2 separate regions of the Homo sapiens genome follow, and region 2 is linked to region 1. Evidence: promoter capture Hi-C in human tissues and cell types (Jung and others, 2019). All regions are on one chromosome and are shown on one strand. The core of a region is centred on a gene start or on the middle of the fragment in contact, and the rest is flanking DNA. Distances in the headings are between cores, read along the strand shown.

Region 1 (5,765 bases), core at 1,434-3,933:
AAGGTATTTTTTTAACACATTTAAAACTTGATTAAAGCCATTCAAATGTTTAATTCATCAGTGTAACCAAAGCTCAAAGCACATCAAAGCAGGACCCATCAGCGGGTACCCAGAAGGCTCCCTCCAAAGGGCGGAGGTAAACACATACACACACACACACACACCACCCCTAAAATTAGTGATTCTGTCTTTGTATAAATTACTTGTAGAGTAGCTCGAACCCATTCCTTCAGAAGTTCTGTGGACTCTTGAAGATAGCACAAAACTCAACGTTTGTTTTTCAAAGAGGTTTTAGCCAACACTTTGGCCTCTATCTAACTCAGACTTCCGGGTTGAAATATGTCTTAGAAACTATACCTGCCTACTTGAAAAAGCACCAAATCTAGAGGATGATTTTCATGGGTGTGAAAAAACAAAACTAAACCACATTCTTTTCTTGGCAGTTCTCTTTTCCCCACCTTCCACTTCAATTAAACTTATTTCAGAATCAACTCGCACACATGCAGGGTCCACTACATATATAAAGGGGAAAAAAAATATCAAAAATAATGGAGATGCACTAGCAACTCTGCCTTTGCAGAAATCATTTCTTCTTAAGACAGAAATTCCTCGCTATTTCCAGCAACACCATTCAACAGGCAAACTTTATTTCCACTGGCTTTTAAAGAGCTAAGCTTAAATCTAAACTCTAAGAGGGTTCAATTTTCTACTAATGAAAACCCCCGGACAGGTTTTTCAACATACCAAAACGTTATATTTTTTTATTCACCCTTTTGTCTCTCTCCACATCCACCACCATCACAAGCAGCAGCAGCAGGAGCATCCTCAAACGAAGAAAACCCCTCCAAAGTGCCCCGAATGTGTGCTGCTGCTGGCTCTGAAGCCGTGTAGAATTTCGTAATGGAATGTGAACTGCTCGTCCGGATCTGGGCTCACGTTCTATCTCCTAACCAGTAAGGAGCGAGGGAGGGCAAATCTGCTGAGCAAGGAGAAATACTTTCCTCCTCTTTTATAACCCATCACGGATGCACGGCGGCCGAGGGGCGCGAGCTGCACGCGGCGCCTGTCAAGCGGCCCGGGCCCGCACCCCGTGGGGTCCCCGCGTCCCCCAGCTCCCCGCCCCGCCCGGAGAGAAAGGTGGCCTCGCCCATCGGTGGGCTCGGCCGACGCGCCCCGCACTCACGCGCGGCCGCGGAGCAGGTCACATCCTCGACGCGCCCTTGGCCCGGTCCAGAAAACACGCCGCTTCCCAGGGAGGGGGTCGGCGACGGGAAGGACCTCCCCTGCTCCTTAGCAACCATTAAGGTCGCAGTTTCCTAAGAGACCGCGAGCGGGGAGGGGGCGCGGGGGGCCCGGCCCAAGGCTTGTGCGGGAAGTTGGGGGCGGGGGGGGCAGCAACAGGCCCCCTCCCCCCACCCAGCTAGACGCCGGGGGCCGGGATGGGAGGAGGAAGGGAAGCCCCAGAACTCGTGAAAAACTGGTCCAGCGGGCGGCGGACAAAAGTTTCCGAGCGCGCTCCACAGCTGGGCGGCGGAGCGGGCCCCGGCGGCCGGCCCCGCCTCGGATGCTCCCGGCCTCCTTCCTGTGCTCGTGACGGCGCCGAGCCCCCCACCCCCCCCGCCCGCGAGGCAGGCTAGCTCCACACCGAGGGCTCCCACGAAAACACTCACCCCGCCAACGGAAGGGCGAGGGAACAATACGTGCCCGCACGGCTAGGGCCCGGTCCCCTCCTCCCCAGGCCCCCCGGGGCGGTGGTCGGCGTGACCACGACCGCCAGCCGGGAACCCGCGAGGGCGCGGGGCTGCCCGCGGCCCCCTCCCGGCCGGCGCCGTCCGCCCGGGAGGTTCAAAGTCCGCAGAGCAGGGCGCGGCGGATGCTCCCACCGAGCAGCCCCGAGCAGGCACCCCCGCGCGAGCACCCCGGGCAGGCACCCCCGGATACCTTAGGGCGGCGGCGGGAGGGCGGGCGCCGTCATCTCCGCGCTTCCCGGCCCGAGAAGGACTCGAAAGTATGTAGGAGAAAAGTTTCCCCTCCCACATGGGGGGGAGGATGTCGAGGGAGAGAGGGCGGAAGATGGAGAGCAGCGCTGGGAAGATGTTTCTGGCCGGCGGTGCGCGCACCATCCGAGTCCCGGCGGTGCTGGTTAAAAATAAACTCGGCGGCGCGGGTCGGGCCGGATTCCTGCGCTCGGACGGCTAATATGGATGCGCATCAGGTCCTGCTGGCGGGGCGCTGCGGCGGCTCGCGCTGGGAGCTGGTTGGCAGAGCCGGCGGCTCGGGAAAGGGAAAAGAGCGGAGGAAGGGGAGGAGGAGGAGGAGGAGGAGGAATGGCCCGGCGCGCAGCCCGAGGGGAGAGGGCTGCCCCGCTCATCCCTGGCCGCCCCGCCGGCCCGAGCGCACGCTGCGCGGAGTGGGGCGTGCGGGTCCCCGGCTCCGGGACACACCGAGTTTCAAAAGTACAACGCGCTCTGCAGACTTCACCCTCCCCATCCCCAAAGTTCTTTAAAAGGTCGCTCCGGCTGTGCCCCAGACTTCTCGCTGCCGCCGGCGTACCGCGAGTCGGAATCCGGGGCACGTACTTACGGCCGGGCAGGACGCTTGGCTCCCTGGCATGATGCGTTGGGGACCGGTGGGCTTCAGGGAGAGACCGAGGAGAGATGCAAACTTGTTCCGGAAAAGGAATCAAAATGGCGTTTCTGGATGTGCAAAGTTCATCAACTCCGCAGTCACTTCCCCTCCTCCTCTTCTCCCACAGGGAGGGAGGTGGGCGAGGAGCTGGCGACCCCGGCGCCCCAGCCGTCGTCCCGGCCCCCGTCTCGGCCCCCCGCCCAGCTTCCTCGCCCGCACGCTCGGAGTCTCGCTCTCCCCCTCTCACCCTGATAAGTAGACACATCACGTGTTGCTCCTGCGAGTCTCCTGGGGACGTGTTACTGAGCGGCCGCGGCGGCGGCGGCGGCGGCGGCGGCGGCGCTCGGACTGGGGGGGGTGAGGGGGAGGACCGCCGCCCCCGCCCCGACTTTAGCAGGGTGACCGCAGTTGCCATCCCGGGATGGATGGAGGTGGAGTCCCCTCCCCACCCCCCACCGCAGCCCCAGGTTTGCCCTACGCCCTCCCAAGGCGCCCCGGGCCATGGGAGGGCCGGGCTGCCCGAGGGGAAGGGTCCGGGAGGCCGCGACTGGCTGCGATCCCAATCGTCCCGTTGCTCGCGGGCCACCTTATTCGGCCACCGCGCCCCCTCCCCTGCAGCCCCTCGCCGCGGGCGACTCCCCGCCCCCGGCTTTCCATCACTTCACTCCGCAGTTTCACTATTTTAACGGAGGCGGGGGAGACACGGTGATGCCTCGGAATTGCGAGAGGGGCACCTCAGAGGCGCTGGAGTTGGGGGGATGGGGGGCGTAGGGCTCGGGGCCCTGGCCTGACGCCGCCCCTCTGGGTCTCCGAGGCATCTGCGAGGGGGAGCCCCGCCCGCGCCGTTTCCTTTCCACGCGGTCCTCGCTCTGCATCCAGGTGGGGCGAGTGGATGATGGGGCAGGAGATTAAGGAGCAGGCGCTTCACCCCGCCCCTAGCTTCGAGCCGTTTCTCTCCCGGGGCCATCCTTCTTACTCGGGCTGCCGCCCTGAGTGTGCTCGCCGTCTAACAAACTCAACTCCGACCCGACTTTGGTCCCCCTCCCTTACCCACACCCCACAAAGGATGCTTCAGCGGGGAACTGCCGTGGCCGCCAGGGGCTGAGGACGGTTCCTGCCGCCACTGTGTCCCCACCCCGCGATGGAATGGCTGATGCTGTGTCATCCACGTCGCCCTCCAAGGCTTCAGAGAAGCCACACGCAGTATCTCTTTCTCTCAGAGGGCTCCTGTTTCAACTCTGAAAAGCAGGGGCCCTTCTCCGAGCCGCTCTCCATCTCTCCAGCTCCTGCCACCACGCTTCGCACTGGCTGCCTTGCCCCAAGTTATCACGGAGCCCAGAGAAACCAGGCCTGGGCTGTGCTTCCTCCATAAAGCAGCTGACATGTTTCCAACTGTTAATACTTCTCCTACCGAGGTTCTGAAAGGGGTCTGTTCTCAGCCTTTGGAAACATCTTCAGAAAGATAAGGATGATTGTGGTTGTTGAAAATAAACACGCCCCCCCCCCCCCGCCCCCGTAGTTCTAAAGAAGAATGTCCAAAGAATACTACAGTAGAATTAAGCGTTTGAGTCTGGTTAGGCAAGATGATGTTATGCAGGCAGAAAGCTGGCTACTTTCTATTTACTATGACCTTTGACCCTGGCTCCACCACACCAGCTCCTCTGAGAAGGCTTGAACACCATGGAGAGTTGTAAGCCCAACTGTGGGCCTTTAATTTGAGCCCTTCCATTGACCTCTAGTTTTCAGGGCTGCAGACAGAAGTGTCTGTCTCGGGATGGGTCCTGGCCAGAATAGAACTCTTTAGAACCAAGGAAAAGCAGCTGGACCCTTAGGTCTGATATGAGATAAGTAGGCTAAACCACTGCCCAAGAAGGAGCTGATTCAGCTGGCTGTTTCTCTGACTTTCAGTCATCAAAATTAAGTTTTCGGAACCTGTTATGTTTCCCAGGGTCTACTGTTTACTGAAGAAAACTCCATCCAGAGAAATTTTAGCGGTTGCATTTTTCTGAGCCTCCCCCAACCCCGCCGCCCCCAAATGTATTATCAAATGCTTTTTTGAAGACAGGCCAGTCGTGGAGGAGATGGGCAGGTCTCTAGACAGGAATAATAGTTCACATTGCCATCATAGAATAGGTGTCTTGTGTTTCTAAGTTGTAATGTGTTCCAATGAGGGCAGAGGAAGGGCCCTGTGGGGAATGCTACTTTATTTACTCACTTTGTCTCTGATTCAGGAGCTAGCCTTTCCTGGTCTCCCCATTCAGGGATAAGTTTTGAATAGGAAAAATATCAAAATTGGAATTTTATGCATAATTTAGCAAATCTCCAATGCTATATGAATTTTCATGACAAATTGCCACCTGTATAATGCCATCTAGAAAATACTGGCAACAAAAAAGATTGAAAACAGTTTTACTACAACTTTTTTTAATTTTTTTTTTTTTTTGGAGACAGAGCATCACTCTGTTGCCCGGGCTGGAGTTCAGTGGTGGGATCACAACTCACTGCAGCTTTGAATTCCTGGTCTCAAGTGATCCTCCACCTTTAGCCTCCCAAGTAGGTGGGACTACAGTGCATGTCACCACATCTAGTTAATTTTAAAAGTTTTAGTAGAGAGGAGGTCTTGCTATGTTGCCCAGGCTGGTCTCAGGCTCTAGGGCTCAAGTGATTCTCCCACCTTGGCCTCCCAAATTGCTGGGATTACAGGTGTAAGCCATTGTGCCCAGCCTATTACATGTTATATTTTCAAAATTGGAGTATCATGATGCTGGGCCCTGTGTTTCTCATTTCTAGCTAATTAATAAACTTGGCAGTCAAACCAGCTGTTCAGGAGTCATGCTATCTAAACCATGATGAGATGCCACTTCACACCCACTAGGATGTTTATAATAAAAAAACAGACAATAAGTGTTGAAGAGAGTATGGAGAAATTGAAACCTTCATACATTGCTGGTGAGAATGTACAATGATGCAGCCACTTTGAAAAATAGCTTGGCAGTTCCTCGAAATGTTAAACACAGAGTTGCCATATGACCCAGCAATTCCGCTCTTAGGTACATAAACAAGAAATGAAAACATATGTCCACATAAAAACTTGTACTCAAATATTCATAGCAGCACTATTCACAATAGCCAAAAAG
Region 2 (5,562 bases), core at 830-3,329, 270 kb after region 1:
CTACTCCTCAGCTCATGGCGCCCTGCCCTTTGGGGTCTGGGCAAAGCCTTGTCTTGTTTTATTTTATATTTTTTCCTTATTTGATCCCTAAATTTCAGTTCCCTCCTCCTCACAGGCAACCACTTTAAATGTGCTTGATTTAAGTCCTTGAATTCTATATATGTATGTATATATAATATGTATATATAACATGTGTATTTATGTATATGTATGTATATAAAACACATAGTGTCTTCGGTATGTGTTTGTTTAAAATGTACATAATTGGCTTTACACTATAGATACAGATAGAGTGGGGAGAGCCACTCTGCTCTCACACACAACACAGGTGGGAAGTGCCATAGGGTGATCACCACTTAGGAGCCGTCCTCCACCGAGGACTCTCAGGAGCTGACGTCAACTCTGGCTCCGTTGACTCTCAGGTGGAATCACTTTGAGGCTTGGACCATTTCCCAGAGTTCCCTCCCAGAGTCATGCACAGGGGCAGCTACTTTAATAAGAAGCCCTTATTGCCTTTCGTCCTCTTCCTGCATCACCTCCTCATTTCCCAGCTGGTATTGCTGGCACCTCCCAAATGCCCCACTTGCACTTGAGTTCTTGCTTCAGGGTCGGCTTTTAGGGAGATCCAAACAAGATGCCGTCCTTATCTTTGCCCTCCCTCTCAGCAGCCTGTCAAGTGATGAGGCTGGGCTCCTGACAGCCATGCTTGGGTAACATGAGCCTGTCCTTCTGCCAGTTGATTGGGCCAGAGAGAGAGAGAGCTGAGTCCACCTGGACCAATGAGAGTCCCTTCTCGGAACTTGGAAATTAGCAGGGATGGTGGGGGGCGGGGAGGGGAGAGAGAGAAAGAAAGAGATGGGCGAGAGAGAGAAAGTGATAGGAGAGAGAGGAGGCAAAAAGAGAGAAGAGAGAGAAATGTGTGTGTGTGTGTGAGAGAGAGAGAGAGAGAGAAGAAAGAAAAGAAAAGGGGAAAGAGAAATGGACAGAATGAATCTTTCCGGAGGGAGGTGGAGGTGGGGAGTGGGAGTATGTGCGTTGGAGCTATGAGCACGTTCTTCCGCAATACTCTGGGGAGCTCAAGTGGTCTGCAGAGAGCAAAATAAAGCAGGTGTGCAGAGCAAAGCATAGGCAAGGCAAAAGTACGCGGAGGTTTTGGCAGCCTTCCAGGTTGGGGTTCCAATCTTTTCAGAGGTCTGGCTCTATTTCTGCATTGACCAAAAAAAGTGCCCAGTTTTGGCTTACACTAGGATGACTTCTTTTACTTGCAGACAGAACATCTATCAACATAACTTTTGCTTCAAAAGTAATTCTTATTAAAAATAAATTGCGTTTTTAGGGCTGTTCTGAAATACATTGGCTCTGGAACTGAGATTTTTATTGTATATTTGTTCATCTGCTTCCCTAGGAGGCACGTTGGCACAAGAAAGAGGTAATTTCCACTTTCTCCATAAGGAAAAGCTAGGGGCTTTCTTTTGAGGGGTTCTTGTGTTCTCTGCTATCTTGGGACCTGAAGGGGCAAGAAGCTGGATTCCTCACACAGGTGTTGGCTGTGTGTGTGGAAGGCCATCCTGAGGGTCAGGAGGCTGGAGATGCCATCTGTGCACGAGGACCTCCAGGACCCACAGGTTGCTGGATGAGGGCACCCCTTGGCCAGCACTTCCAAGGACCTGGCGTGGATAGGACAGTGAGGTTGGCCACTGGGTCCTGCGGCCTTGGGGACGCTGGCAAGGCTACATGGCTGAAACTGTGGTTGATGGGAGGACAGTTGTGAGGGGCTGCCAGGGTGGCAGGGCACGCCAGAAGGGAGAACTTGCTCTTGGCAGTGGCTATGGGCAGCAAAGAAATAGTGACCATTCAGAGCTGAAGGCCATTCAGAACCCTTCCCCATTTCTCTGATGTGAGTAAGCCCTGGGAGTCCTACATGTTCCAGGATGGTAGATCATGAATATTGCCTTTTTTTTTTTTTTTTGAGACAGGGTCTCACTCTGTCACCCAGGCTGGAGTGCAGTGGGACGATCACGGCTCACTGCAAACTCTGCCTCCTGGATTCAAGCGATTCTCCTGCCTCAGCCTCCTGAGTAGCGGGACTACAGGTGCCCGCCACCATGCCTGGCTAATTTTTGTATTTTTAGTAGAGATGAGGTTTCACCATGTTGGTTAGGTTCGTCTCGAACTCCTGACCTCAAGCGATCCACCCACCTTGGCCTCCCAAAGTGCTGGGATTACAGGCGTGAGCCACCACGCCCGGCCTGATATTAGCCATTGTAACCAACCTTGGCAAGTGGTGCTGGGATTGAATTTAATTAAGAAAGTGCAATAAGACATTTGTTACACTCCAGGTGTGGTGGAAGAACTCATACTTATTCCATTTGTACATTTGGTAAGACATTTGTTACACTCCACGTGTGGTGGAAGAACTCATACTTATTCCATTTGTACATTTGGATAACTGTTCTGATTAAGGGTAATCATTCTTCATGGATGTATTTTGTCCTACAATTAAATCTCAGAGGTGACTGTTTCTTAGGAACGTTTTTAGGTGAAAATATAGAACCACTTCCACAATCTATTACAATGGAGAGAAAGGAGCGCAAGGAAAACAGAATTATCTAAGGAATTATCCAGTACCAATTATCTAAGCATTGGTACTGGACCAGTGAGAGAGCAAGTTAAACAAGAGAAACTGCTCTAGAGAAAGACATTTAGGGGACTAAGCCAAGAAGTTCACAGAACAGATAGAAAGACTAGAGAACAACTGCAAGAAAAAGAGGGGAAGCCAAGGGAATTCGGAGCCAAGGTTGTGCCTCAGGTTAGGGGGCCCCCCTGCCACCCCAAGACAGTGCAGGCATTGCTGTAGGTGGAACGCATGTGGCACCATTCTTTGCTTCTGTGTCACTTGCTGAGGACTCAGTGTCCTGTTAGATTGGCCAGACACATGTTGTTTGTTCAGGCTTGGCCTCCAGGGCTGAGGAACAGCAAATGTCTGGCTCTCTGACTACTGTAGTGGAAGGTGTGTGTCCCACCAAGACCGAGGCAGATTCCCCAATATGGCAAAGGGGTTCAGATGCGGAGCAGCCCAAGACCCCCTTGCATAAAGCTATTATGATAGGCAAACATCCACAATGAAAAGCAGCTAACACTGACACCCTTGTGGGCAGGTCGGGAGCATCCATGTCCCCAGGGATATCTCCCAGGCCTCTTCCCGTGCACACGATCTCTCTTCCTTCCCATGTGCCCTTCTGTGGCTGCAATCCCACCTCTATGCTGGTGAATCTGGCATCTCAAGCTTGGTTGCTATCTCCACGTCTCTTACGAGTTTCAGACTGTTACATTCAACCCACTCCTCCACATAGCCTCTTCCATGTCCCTCAAACTAAACTGAACTCATTATCTCTAAGAAAGTCTACGTGTGGGGCAGTGGAGGTCATGGACTCTGGGTTGGATACCTTGGGTTAGAAGCCCAGCTGTATAGCCTTGGAAAAGTTACAGACCTTTTATGGCTTAGTTTTGTCATCTATAAAACGGGGATAGCATCTATCTCACAAGGTTGTTACGCCGATTAAATGACTTCATGGATGGAAAACGATTAGAATATTTCCTGGCACATAGTAAGCATTCAATAAGTTTTTCTTTTCCACCAGATTTAGACCTTTCCTTATTTCCTTTTCTCAGCTAATACTCCTTAATCACATGCACTAGAAACTTCGAAGTCACACTTGACTGCTTTTTTCCTTCTCTTGATATTATAACAGTTTAAAAGTCTACTGACTCAATATCTCAAATGTTTCTCAGATCCTTCTCCTTCTGTCCAACCCCGCTGCCACTTCCTTGGTTTTGGCCACAATCCTCTTTTGTTTGGATAAGAGAAACAGTCCTCTAACTGGTTTCTTAGCCACCAGGTACTTCCAGTTTGTAGAAGGACAAAATTATTTCATGTGATAATCATAACAGCTAATGTTTTTTGAATCTCCACTGTAAACTAAAAAATCTAAGAGCTGGCAGGGAGCCGTGGCTCACGCCTGTAATCCCAGCACTTTGGGAGGCCGAGGTGGGCAGATCACAAGGTCAGGAGTTTGAGACCAGCCTGGCCAACATGGTGAAACCCCGTCTCTACTAAAAAATATAAAAATTAGCCGGGCGTGGTGGCATGCGCTTGTAATCCCATCTACTCAGAAGGATGAGGAAGAAGAATTGCTTGAACCCAGGAGGCAGACGTTGCAGTGAGCCGAGATCACGCCACTGCACTCCAGAGCCTGGATGACAGGGAGAGACTTTGTTTCAGGAAAAAAAAAAAATCTAAGAGCTTTACATGGATTTGTTCATTTGATTGTCACACCAACCTCCGGCATAGGATCATAATTTTTATTATCTCTCTTTGTAGATGGGCAAACCAAGGCATGGAGTGCTTAGAGGACTTACTCAGGGCTGCACAGCAGTAAATGGTCCAGGTGGGATTGAACACAGGCTCCCAGAGCAGACATTTATGTTCTTTGCTGGATCCTGGGCCCTCTGCAGGAGTTTCCAGGAGAGCTGGAATTTTGATTTCAATGTATTCTAAACTAAAATTATGAAACAAATTGAACTTGATTGATTTAATTAAATCTTTTTTTTCTTTTTCTTATTTATTTATTTATTTTTGAGACAGGGTCTTGCTGTGTTGCCCAGGCTGGAGTGTAGTGGTGTGTTTGTGACTCACTGCAGCCTTGACCTCCTGGGCTCAAGCAATCCTCTCACCTCAGCCTCCTGAGTGGCTGGGACTACAGGTGTGTGCCACCATGCCCAGGTAATTTTTGTATTTTTTGTAGAGAGAGTGTCTCACCATGTTGATCAGGTTGGATTTGAACTCCTGGGCTCAAGTGAGCCACCTGCCTTGGCCTCCCAAAGTGTTGGGATTGCAAGCATGAGCCACTGTGCTTGGCTGATTAATTGAAAATATGTAGATTAACACTGGTAGTTTCACTTGATCTGTTTGTCAGGTGATCATTCCTATATACGGCCCTGTGAGGAGAGAGGGCATTTGACAATTTGAGAGACTGACAGATAACGACATGCTCACTCATGTTCACTGCCAATGACTTGTCACATCTGCCAATGACTTGTCACATGTAGCTCATGTGCTACAAGGAGGTCGTGGTGTGGCTAAATAAGTGTGTGTGTGTATATACACACACATATGCATATATACATACATATACATATGTAGCATAGCATATAACTGACTTCTATGTAGAATCTTTTCACGTTTTATGAAATGGGAAGTAGAGAGGAAACATGTATTTCAAGTAGAGGTTTATTCAAGGCAAAGCTCTCAGGAGATTTGTCAGATCTGAAGATGCAGATTTGACAGCAATTCCAAAATTTCTGACCTGTTCTGATGAGTAGCTATCAGTAGATATAAGCTATGTAGAAAATCATCTTGAAAATTAAGAACAACTTAATTTGTCTCTTCTCAATACAGATGACATTTTAATAATGAGTGAAAGAATAATTGATTTTCAAAAGAAAGTTATGTTGCAGTGAGAGCATGTTGAAAACAGGTCTTTGAGATTATTTCTAAATCTT

The links. Contacts are between HindIII fragments. The study calls those that stand out against the background at their distance.
Region 2: a fragment that was not itself captured here is called in contact with the fragment with the promoter of RREB1 in region 1 in 1 of the 25 tissues and cell types used here (mesenchymal stem cells).

Annotation. Positions count from the first base shown.
Region 1 is chr6:7,104,879-7,110,643 of GRCh38, reverse strand. It overlaps RREB1 (ras responsive element binding protein 1), which reads right to left and starts at 2,683. Exons shown (of 13, transcript NM_001003699.4): 1 at 2,584-2,683. RefSeq lists silencers at 1,315-1,404, 1,425-1,914, 2,705-2,924, 2,985-3,464 and an enhancer at 3,815-3,874. The HindIII fragment of the contact is 13,967 bases long and covers 1-5,765 here.
Region 2 is chr6:6,830,022-6,835,583 of GRCh38, reverse strand. No RefSeq gene overlaps it. Among named protein-coding and RNA genes, the nearest start is that of LINC03055, 53 kb to the left of the region's middle. The HindIII fragment of the contact is 5,235 bases long and covers 1-4,696 here.